3 separate regions of the Homo sapiens genome follow, and all the other regions are linked to region 3. Evidence: promoter capture Hi-C in 16 types of primary human blood cells and fetal thymus (Javierre and others, 2016). All regions are on one chromosome and are shown on one strand. The core of a region is centred on a gene start or on the middle of the fragment in contact, and the rest is flanking DNA. Distances in the headings are between cores, read along the strand shown.

Region 1 (3,348 bases), core at 666-3,165, 440 kb before region 3:
CTGTGTGTGTGTTTGTGTATGAGTGCATGTCTGTGAGTGCATTTGTGTGTGTGAGTGCGTGTCTGTGTGTGAGTATGTGTGTGTGTGACTGCATGTGTATGCATGCACACAAGTTCTTTTCCTAGCCCTGGGGCACCTGAATGCCGCCTGGGCGTGAGAAATGACAGAAGCCCTCACTCAGAGTCCATGCTCACAAGCATGGTGACAACAGGGGATGACCCTGTACCCACTCCGGGCCAGTCACTGTGTGAAGGACTCTGACAACCCCGCGAGGTGGGACTGCCTCTTCCCTTTCACAGGGAGGACTAGCAACCTGGCCAAGGCCCGCGGCACACCTCCCCTGTCCCAGAGCCACCGTCCACCCCTTGCCTTGTCCCCATGTTCCACACCCACCTGCTTTGACTAACCCAGTGGCAGCATCAGGAGTCACTTTGGACTGTTACAACTGGGAGCTACCTCTGGCATCTAGCTGGGGGGCAGGGGCTGCTGCCACGCCTCCCCAGTGCACAGGAATCATCCTGCCCCAGGTGTCAATGGCGGGAGGTGAGAATCCTGGTATCAGCACCCTCCTGGGGGCAGCTTTGCTCCAGGCTTGGCCTCCTGATTCCCGTCCCTCCCCTGGCCTGGCCCTGGCAGCGCCTCTTCCCCCTCTTCATAGCCCTCAAAGCCATCAGAGAGCTGAAAAGGAGGGCCACGTCCACCCCTCCTGGAAGGAGTTGCCTGATGGGGTGCTCTGCAGGGAGCAGGGGCTGGGAAGGTCCCCTGTGTCTGTGAGCTCAGCAGAGCTGGAAGGCTCCCGGGTGGTCCTAGCCCCTGCTTTCCAGGAGGAAACTGGCCCAGCAGGCTGCTGACTAGACTTACCCACAGCCACTGAGCCAGGTCTCATGCCCTGGCCAAGCCCACATGCTGCCCAGAGCTCCAGGCCTGCTACTGATCAACCTCGGGGGGCGAGGTTTCCTGGGTCCCAGTAGACGGTCAGGAGGGCCAGCTCACACGAGTCACCCCCTGGACTTTTGCCTGATGTAAAAATGAAACCGAGTAACCAGCGCCATGCAGGGGGAGGCACGAGAAGCCTCCGACAGATTCCAAGGGCAATTGCCATTGGCACTCGAGGTCAGCGCTGATGGCCTGGGTGTGTGGACACCCGTCCATCCTGACAACCATGCACCTTGAGAGCAAGGCCGCACCCCTGCCACGTGTGGGCCCACGCCTGCCCCAGATGGGCTCTCGAGAGAGGAGACCTCCGAGCGAGGACCAGACCTGTGGCCGAGATGTGGCATGTGGGACGTTTAAACACTCTGGGAGTTTTCAAAGCAAGCTTCACCTGTGATCTCATGGGCTCTTTAATCCCATTTGCTAGATAGGGGAAGCTGAGGCTGGAGGATGCAAAGAGCCCATCCCAAAGATGTGGCAGTTAGTGGTCGAGCCTGTCCCAGGTGCTGACTGCTGCCACCCTCTCCCTAGTTCAGGGTGGGAGTGGAAGGGAGAGCAGCTTTGGGGGCCCCGAGCATTGGGGTCTGCACAACATACAGGGGTCTGTGAGCAGCCGGGCAGAGGTGCAGACTCGGCGCTCCCTATGGGGCAGGAAGCCCATCTGGACGGCCTCTGATGAGCTCCCACCTCCCTGAGGACGGCTCCTGGGTGCAGCAGGAGGTGAGCAGGGGCTTGTGTGTCCTCTCCCCGTTACGATGCGTGCAAGCACAGAGGACAGCGATCACGGGGCCTCTCCAAGAACGTGCGACCTGGCTGATATGGCGCTAGTTATTTTACCAGCCTGGGATTTCTGGAACACAATCAGTACCCGTGGACTTTGCTGAGTAGACCCTCAATTTGGGTCTGGATGCTGCAGAGAAAAGGGCACAAACAGGCCCGGCCCCGGTGCCCCCTGCTCCCTGCCCGCCGTGTGTGCCTGGGTGAGTCAGCGGCCTCTCTGAGTTTCCACTTGCTCATCTGGGAGATGACATCATGGCGCCCACCTGTCAGGAGGGCAGAGCTGGCCCCTAGAGGCTACGGTGCTGCGGCCTCACCACTCCCTGGCGGTGAACTGGGGGGATCTTGGGGCGTCTAGGACAGTTGGACATAACAGGTATGTGCAAGGTAGGAGGAGTGGGTGGCTCTTTGGACTTGGGGTCCTTGAGGATGCAGGTGTCCGTCCCTGGGTCAGGCTTCCTCTCACGCTGTGGTGACCCCTGTGCTGCCCTAGGCACCTGGCCAGGGCTCGGCTCAAAAACCATTTTTTTTTCCTGGCATCAAACAACAACAACAACAACAAGCTCTAGAATACGAAAGTGGGGATGAATACATCTTCATCTACAGAGCACAGCACCTGCAGGCCAGCGCTTGAGGGGTGGCGTGGTCCGCGCCCTGAGGACCTGTGTGGGTACAGGATGCCAGCTGGGACAGGGGGAAGGCTTTGGAAAGTGAGTGGGAGAGAGGAGGGAGGGCTGGAGGAGGGAGATAGAGGAGGGAGGATGGGGAGTGAGGAAGGGAGGAAGGACAGAGGGAAGCTTGAGGGAGGGAGTGTCAGGGCCTGGAGCCCGGCTGAGCCCGGTCCAAGGAGACATTCCAGACGGATGGTGGCGCGTGACTCAGATGCCTACGGCCCAAGCGTTTCTGCCCCATCATCTGAATGGCCCCAGTCGAGAGCAAAAAGCTGGGGTGGACAGGGGTGGCCTCGAGGGCGTCCTGCACAGGGGCACAGGCACACACCCCCACTGCAGGCCATACACACCGGCTCACACATTCACGTGCTGCCATGGGTGGCGGGCCCAGCGGGAGAGTAGCCGGAAGCCACCGGGCCCATGGGTCGGCAGAGGGTCTGGGCATGCAGGATCCACCTTGCCCACCCTCTGTGAGGCTCTGAGCAGCAACGCCCCTCCCCTGGGAAGTCCCCCTGCCCTGCACCACCCCGGCTCCTGCCTTCTGAGCAGGGCTGCTTTTGGACACACGGTCTGTGCCCCTGCCCCATTGGGAAGACTCCTGTGGCCTGCCTGGTGTGCAGAAGACACAGGAGTGGTGGCTAACTGTGGGCTCTGGGTCGAGTCCCATCTCTGCCTCCAGCTCTGGCAAGTCCCTCCTGGGAGATGCTGAAGGGACCCAGCTGAGAGCCAGCCTGCGCTGGGGCCTGGCCTTCTGGTGCCTCTGGCCCTCCCGGCGGCATGAGCGGGCAGAGCCGTCCTCCCTGCTTTACCCAGTAGGAGGCTGGGCCCTCGGGGGCCTCGGGGCACGCTGGGAGGAGGCCTGGCGTCTGGGCTGGGCACACACCACACCTGTGCCCTGCACTTCCTGGCTGCCCTAGGAGCCTCTCTGGGAATCTCAGGCACAGCAGGCAGCTGGTGGCCTGGGTCC
Region 2 (3,064 bases), core at 262-2,761, 500 kb before region 3:
CAAGCCATGGTGGGGCCTCCCTGACCCCGTCTGTCCCACCCAATACCCCCATTAAAAAAAAAAATCAAGGAAGCCTGTATTCACATTACAACACAAAAATAGCACCAGAAACTTCAGAGTAACATTGCAAATAGGCGGAGCCCAGAGCTCCGTACAGCAGGGAGGCTCTAGAGGGCGGCCATGGAGGCTGGGAGGGAACGAGGAGGGCCCGCGGGAGCTGGCACAGGGGCGGTTTCTTCCCAGTTCCATACGGGAACCCGGTTCCTGGGGTCAAGGTGTGCTAGAGATGGGCTTTTCTCCCGCAGAGCAAATGGAGGCTGGCATGACCCTGTGGTCAGAGGGAGGAGGCATGACCCTGTGGTCAGAGGGAGGAGGCCTGTTGTGCTCTTGGGGGACCAGGCGGCTCAGAAGCAACCCTTCTAAGTAGTGAGCACTGCCTTCCCCCACGTGGTTTCTAAGGTCACTTTGGAATTCCAGCAACAGCAGCAAGACTAAGAGGGAACCTACCACCATCCCACGGCTGCCTCAACTTACTTCCCTTCTCCATGTGGGGGAACGGGAGGTTGTGCAAATCTCCAAACATTGGCTTCTGTGGTGTCGGTGCCCACAGGGCGCAGGGGTGTGGGCTGAGGGGATGGGCTGCTGTCTCTTCAAGTACTTGGTACCAAGAAAACAGCTGTGTGGTCTCAAAAGGGCTGCAGTGGCCCCGTCTTTCACCCCCAGCCTTCCAGCAAGAAAGGGAATGCTGCCCACCTGGGCCCTGTTCAAAGCATCACCACCTCAGCTCTGACATCAAGGCCTGAGCAGTTGCACAAGAAGTCAAGTGGCCACAGAGTGGACCATCTCAGGGAGCCGGAGCTGGCCAAGGAGGCAGGCCGAGACAGGAACGCCCAGCTCCGGTCCCAGGCTCTTGCTCCTAGAAATTACTCGGAAGCATCTTTCTTTAAAGGGATTTTGAAGCCAGTTAGTCTCTGCCCGAAGAGCTGGCTGAGGAGGTCACTCTGGGCCTCGGCCGTCCGGTGGGTGTGTGGCTCGGCAGGTTCAGCACCGTGGACAGCTGTGCCCCTCTTGGGGGGCCTGAGCAGGGGTCTCCCCTGGGGGAAGGCCTTGCCCAGTCTGTCCTTCCTCTGTGTGTGGCCCGGCTCTGCCTTCCGCTGCTCTGATGGTGGCGGCCTGGGTTTGTTCTGGCTGTTGGGCTTGGGCTTGGTCGGGAGCACGCGGCTGGGAGTTGCCTGCTTCCGAGGGGTCCGGGGGGGCTTGTCAGGGGCTGAGGGGGCTCTCCCGAAGCTCCCCACACTTTCACTCCTGGCTGGCCCTGGGACCTGGCCCTTTTTCCTCTTCGTACTGCTCTCTCCCTTCTCCTTGGGACCTAGGCTCCCGTGGGGCCCCTGCTCACCAGCTTCCCTTGGCCCCTTGGTGCAGCTCTTGGCTTGGGCTCGAGCGGGGAGCCTCTCTGGTGCAGGGCTCCGGCTGGGGAAGCTGGGCTTGGCTGGGGTGGTGGCTGTCTCGCTCTGGAGCTGCCCGCTGGCTGGCTGGGGCTGGCTGCCACCTCCTGTCTTGGTGCCGGGGCGAGGGCTTCCACTGCCCTGGGAGCTGGGGCCGGGTTTGGCTTTGGGGGTGGCGGGCTTCATCCCATTCTCTGTGCCACGGGCCAGCTCCCCGGGTGCCAGGCTCCCCACCGCCTTCCTTGGGTGCACTGGGAACTTGAGTGCTTTGCTGGGGGTGGATGCTGCCGACCTGTCCTTTGATGAGCTCTGGCAGCCCGCAGGCTTGGTGGCGCTGCCCTTGTGGAAGGCGCCTCGGGGCCCCCCCTCAGACACCATGTGGCTTGAGGACACCTCCTTCTCTTTCTGAAGTAGGTGGTCTTCCTGGAAATGGTCAGGGGCACACCTGCCACGGGCACCCGGGGCCCTGCGTTTCCCTGAGAACACGAGAGGAGCCCTCTTTCCCTCCGCATCTTGGCCTCTGGCTCCCGGCCGCGGCAGAGATGCCCCCAGAGGGAGAGCTTGCTGGAGAAGAGGCCCGGGGCTGCCTGGGGAAGCCTCGTTCTCTGGCCTCTCCAGGGCTCCGTCCAGCGCGCAGTCTCCTCTGCCATCAGCCAAGGCAGCTGGGAAGGGAGACAGAGACGGCGGGGGACACTCCTGGTGGTTGGATGGCAGCTCACAACCTCTGATCGGGTGGGTCACGGGGTCTACAGGCCTCTCTAGGGTCTCGGGCCATCCCTTGGTGGTGCTGGGAGCCACCTCCGAACACAGGTGGAGCAGGGCCGGGAGAGAGCCCTCACTCAGGATGGGGCTGCTTCCCCGGGGAGGAGGCCTGTCCTCGCCGGGCCCAGGGGCACTGCCGGGCATGGCCACCCTGCGCCGTTTGCTGGGCAGTGTGCCCTCGAGGGCCCGGGCCTTCTGTCCCGGCGCTCCCGGCCTCCGCACGCCGCGGAACGCGAAGGGCTGCCGCCCCCCCCTGAGGTGCTTGTTCATGTGGCGGTCGAACTGCTCCTTCTTGGCGAAGGTGTAGTTGCAGGAGCTGCAGGCGAAGGACTTCTTGATGATGCGCATAACCGTGGCGCAGAGCTCGCAGGCATACAGCGGCGTGTGCTGCAGCTCCGGCCGCTCCAGCAGCCCGTGCGCCCCGCCCAGGTGTGCCAGCAGCTCCCCGTGCTCGGGGTAGACCCGGGGGCACCGGGGGCACAGGTAGACGCGCTGCGGGCTGTGCACCGCCAGGTGGCGCTGCAGCTTGAAGGGCTTGGGGAAGCGCTTCCCGCAGTGGTGGCAGTCGCGGGAGGGGTCCTTGCAGGCCTCGTGCACCGGGGTGGCTTGCAGGAGGGGCTCCCCGCCGGCCCAGGGGTCGGGGGACGGGCTGGGGGTCGTCCTGGGGGGGCCCGGGCTGCCGGCGTCAGCCAGGGCGGTGGCAGAGGCGCTGTCTGGGGTCGCGGCCCCGTCTGGGTTGCTGGGGGTGCTGCGTGCCCGGGGTTTCGCCCTCTCGCCCGGGCTGTCTTTCTTGGCTTCTCCCTCTTGCCCCCACGGGTCTCCCGGGCTCCCGGCGGCCTTGCCGGCGGAGCGCTTGC
Region 3 (3,299 bases), core at 549-3,048:
AAAGATTGTAAGTTTAAACAACAACAAGAAGTCACAAACTGGTGCATCCCAATCCCATGGGTTCCATTTCACAGGTAAAAGGTGTCTGGGTGAATAAACTGCTGTGCCGCTCAAAGGACCCAAAGGAAGGTTCTTTGTGGGTTGGCGTCTGCAAATATCACCAGCTGCCTGGCTAGAGTGACCAGCTAACATACCCATGTGGACCCTGGGCATGAAGGGAGGTACCAGGCCAGGGGCAGTGGCTCATGCCTGTAATCCGAGCACTTTGGGAGGCCACTCTGGGAGGATTGCTTGAGCCCAGGAGTTCAAGACCAGCCTGGGCAACATGGCGAGAACCTGCCTCTACAAATAATTTTTAAAATTAGCTGGACATAATGGCATGCACCTATAGTCCCAGCTACTTGGGAGGCTGAGGAGGGAGGATCACTTGAGCCTGGGTGATTGAGACTGCAGTGAGCCATGATGGCACCACCGCACTCCACCTTGGGTGACAGAGCAAGACCTCACCTCAAAAAAAAAAAAAAAAAGAAAGAAAGAAAGAAAGAAAGAAAGAAAGAAAAGAAAAGAGGCTGGACGCAGTGGCTCATGCCTGTAATCCTAGCACTTTAGGAGGCCGAGGTGGGTGGATTGCCTGAGCTCAGGAGTTCGAGACCAGCTTGGGGAACACAGTGAAACCCCGTCTCTACTAAAAATACAAAAAATTGGCCGTTGTGGTGGTGTGTGCCTATAATCCCAGCTACTCAGGAGGCTGAGACAGGAGAATTGCTTAAACCTGGGAGGCAAAGGTTGCAGTGAGGCAGGATCACGCCATTGCACTCCAGCCTGGGCAACAGAGCGAGACTCCATCTCAAAAAAAGAAAGAAAGAAAAGAAAAGAAACGAAGAAAAGAGGCTGGGCGTAGTGGCTCACACTTGTAATCCCAGCACTTTGGGAGGCCGAGGCAGGCAGATCACCTGAGGTCAGGAGTTCAACACCAGCCTGGCCAACGTGGTGAAACCCCATCTCTACTAAAAATACAAAAAATTAGCTGGGCATGGTGGTGGGCGCCTGTAATCCCAGCTACTCAGGAGGCTGAGGCAGGAGAATTGCTTGAACCTGGGAGGCAGAGGTAGCAGTGAGCCGAGATCACGCCATTGCACTCTAGCCTGGGCAACAGAAGTGAAACTCTGTCTAAAAAAAAAAAGAAAAGGAAAGAAAGAAAGGTGGCCCTGTTAATGTTTATGCCAAGACAGCAGGCATGACCTGGAAGTGTCCGAAGCCACAGGGCATCTTGCTTCCGGGGAGGATGAATGAATCAAATCGCACCTATTTTAAGGCAAGCAAGGACTCCATGACTTCAGGAGCCCTGGTGGGTGGACAGAAGCTCCCTGCTCCCCTGGCCTGTCTACCCAGCAGCGCTTTGGCCAGTCCCATTCCTGTACTTCTGAGCCTGCCTGCCAGTCCCTCCTCACATGCACACCATGGCTTTGTGCCTGGTATTGAGTGTCCCGGAGCCCCAAACCACACGGTCAACCCCATGAAAGAAACAGGGACTCTGCTCTCATCCACTCGCCCCCGCCTCCCGCGTAATCCCCTGGTGCTCACGCAGCCCCACCGTACAGTTTTTCTAGCTCCCTGGCAGACTTGTGCTCCTGTTTGCCAGATCAAAGCCCAGTGACCTGAGTGGCCTGTCCCCAGCAGAGGCCACTAATCCCTGTGGACCCACCCTGTTGGGAAAGGCATGGGTTGAACTTTAACCATTAGGCTCAGGGGTTGGGATGAGTTTCTACAAAAAGAGGTGGGTACACGCCAGTCCACAGTGGTCCTGATCAAAGTGAGAACAGACAGCAGGGAACATCACCCTCTTCAGACTGGAGTCAGTGGGAACAGACCCAAGATGTTGGGGAGGAACACTTGGAAGACCTCAGCTTTCTCCTTCTTGGTTGAGCAGATGTGGGCCCCTCTCTGGAGTCGTTCGATGAGGCCAGGGCGATGGTGTTCTCAGCGTTCCTGTGCATGGCAAACCAGCAATAACACTTGTAAGTAGAGCCTCAAATTTCCTAAGATGCGACTGGATCCTTGTCTTAGCTGATGGGGTCTTTCGAGAGGAGAGAGGAGAGACCGTCCCGAGCCAGATGGGTTCAGATTTCCACTCCGTTTTTTTTTTTTTTTTTTTAAGATGGCGTCTCGCTCTGTGGCCCAGGCTGGAGTACAGTGGCGTGATCTCAGCTCACCACAACCTCCACTTCCCGGGTTCAAGCGATTCTCCTGCCTCAGCTTCCTGAGTAGCTGGGACTATAGGTGCATGCCACCACTCCTGGCTAATTTTTCGTATTTTTAGTAGAGACAGGGTTTCACTGTGTTAGCCAGGTTGGTCTCGAACTCCTAACCTCGCGATCCGCCTGTCTCAGCCTCCCAAAGTGCTGGGATTGCAGGCATCAGCCACGGCGCCCGGCCCTCTTTTTTCTTTTTTTGATGAAGTTTTGCTCTTTTGCCCAGGCTAGAGTGCAATGGCATGATCTCGGCTCACTGCAACCTCTGCCCTCCAGGTTCAAGTGATTCTCCTGCCTCAGCCTCCAAAGTAACTGGGACTACAGGCACCCGCCACTGCACCCAGCTAATTTTTTGTATTTTGGTAGAGATGGGGTTTCACCATGTTGGCCAGGCTGGTCTCGAACTCCTGACCTCAGGTGATCCACCCACCTTGGCCTCCCAAAGTGCTAGGATTACAGGCGTGAGCCACCGCGCCTGGCCACACTCCGTTTCTCTTGTATTTGGTGACCTTGGGTGAATCATTTAGCCTCCGTTTCAGGGGTCCTGGGGAGGGCAAGATGCTGGGAGCAGGCGGGTAGTCCGTGTTCGCACGGGACACACTGGCACGACTCACCATCCAGACCCGGCGGAATGGGCTGCACTAACCAGTCACGATCGCTCCTAAACTCTTCGGCAGAGAACGCTTTCAAGCAAACCTGTAACAAATAAACCACTCAGCCAGCTCTGCCAAGAAACTGCCCCGTGCCAGCCCCTCCTGGCTTCATGGTCAGTGCCTTGTGACCTTGAACGAGGCCCTTCCTCTTTCTGGGTCTCAGGTGCTTCCTCCGTAGAATGAGAGCCTGCTTTGGCAGCTGCCAAGTTCTCTTCTAACTGAAATCTTCCATGCATTCCATGTTTGGGCCATTGAAAGAGCATGGGCTTAGGAGCCAGACCCCAGGCATGCAGTCCGACTGACGCTTGCTGAGGTGGAGCCTCGGCAGGTCTTCACCCCCAAGCCTCTGTGTCCTTATCTCGAGATGGGGGTGGCCAGACTTTCTCTCCAGGGC

The links. Contacts are between HindIII fragments. The CHiCAGO score rates a contact against its expected background, and 5 or more counts as called.
Region 1: a contact is called between a fragment that was not itself captured here and the fragment with the promoter of CA5A in region 3, in 1 of 17 cell types (naive B cells). The highest score is 5.5, in naive B cells.
Region 2: a contact is called between a fragment that was not itself captured here and the fragment with the promoter of CA5A in region 3, in 11 of 17 cell types (endothelial precursors, M2 macrophages, M0 macrophages and 8 more). The highest score is 18.5, in endothelial precursors.

Annotation. Positions count from the first base shown.
Region 1 is chr16:88,376,787-88,380,134 of GRCh38, reverse strand. It overlaps a transcript of ZNF469 not described here. Among named protein-coding and RNA genes, the nearest start is that of ZNF469, 4.5 kb to the left of the region's middle. The HindIII fragment of the contact is 1,189 bases long and covers 1,321-2,509 here.
Region 2 is chr16:88,437,192-88,440,255 of GRCh38, reverse strand. It overlaps ZNF469 (zinc finger protein 469), which reads right to left. Exons shown (of 3, transcript NM_001367624.2): 3 at 1-3,064. The coding sequence ends at 924. Among named protein-coding and RNA genes, the nearest start is that of ZFPM1, 15 kb to the left of the region's middle. RefSeq lists a silencer at 2,657-2,806. The HindIII fragment of the contact is 5,448 bases long and covers 1-3,064 here.
Region 3 is chr16:87,935,028-87,938,326 of GRCh38, reverse strand. It overlaps CA5A (carbonic anhydrase 5A), which reads left to right and starts at 1,798. Exons shown (of 7, transcript NM_001739.2): 1 at 1,798-2,018. The coding sequence starts at 1,877. The HindIII fragment of the contact is 28,449 bases long and covers 1-3,299 here.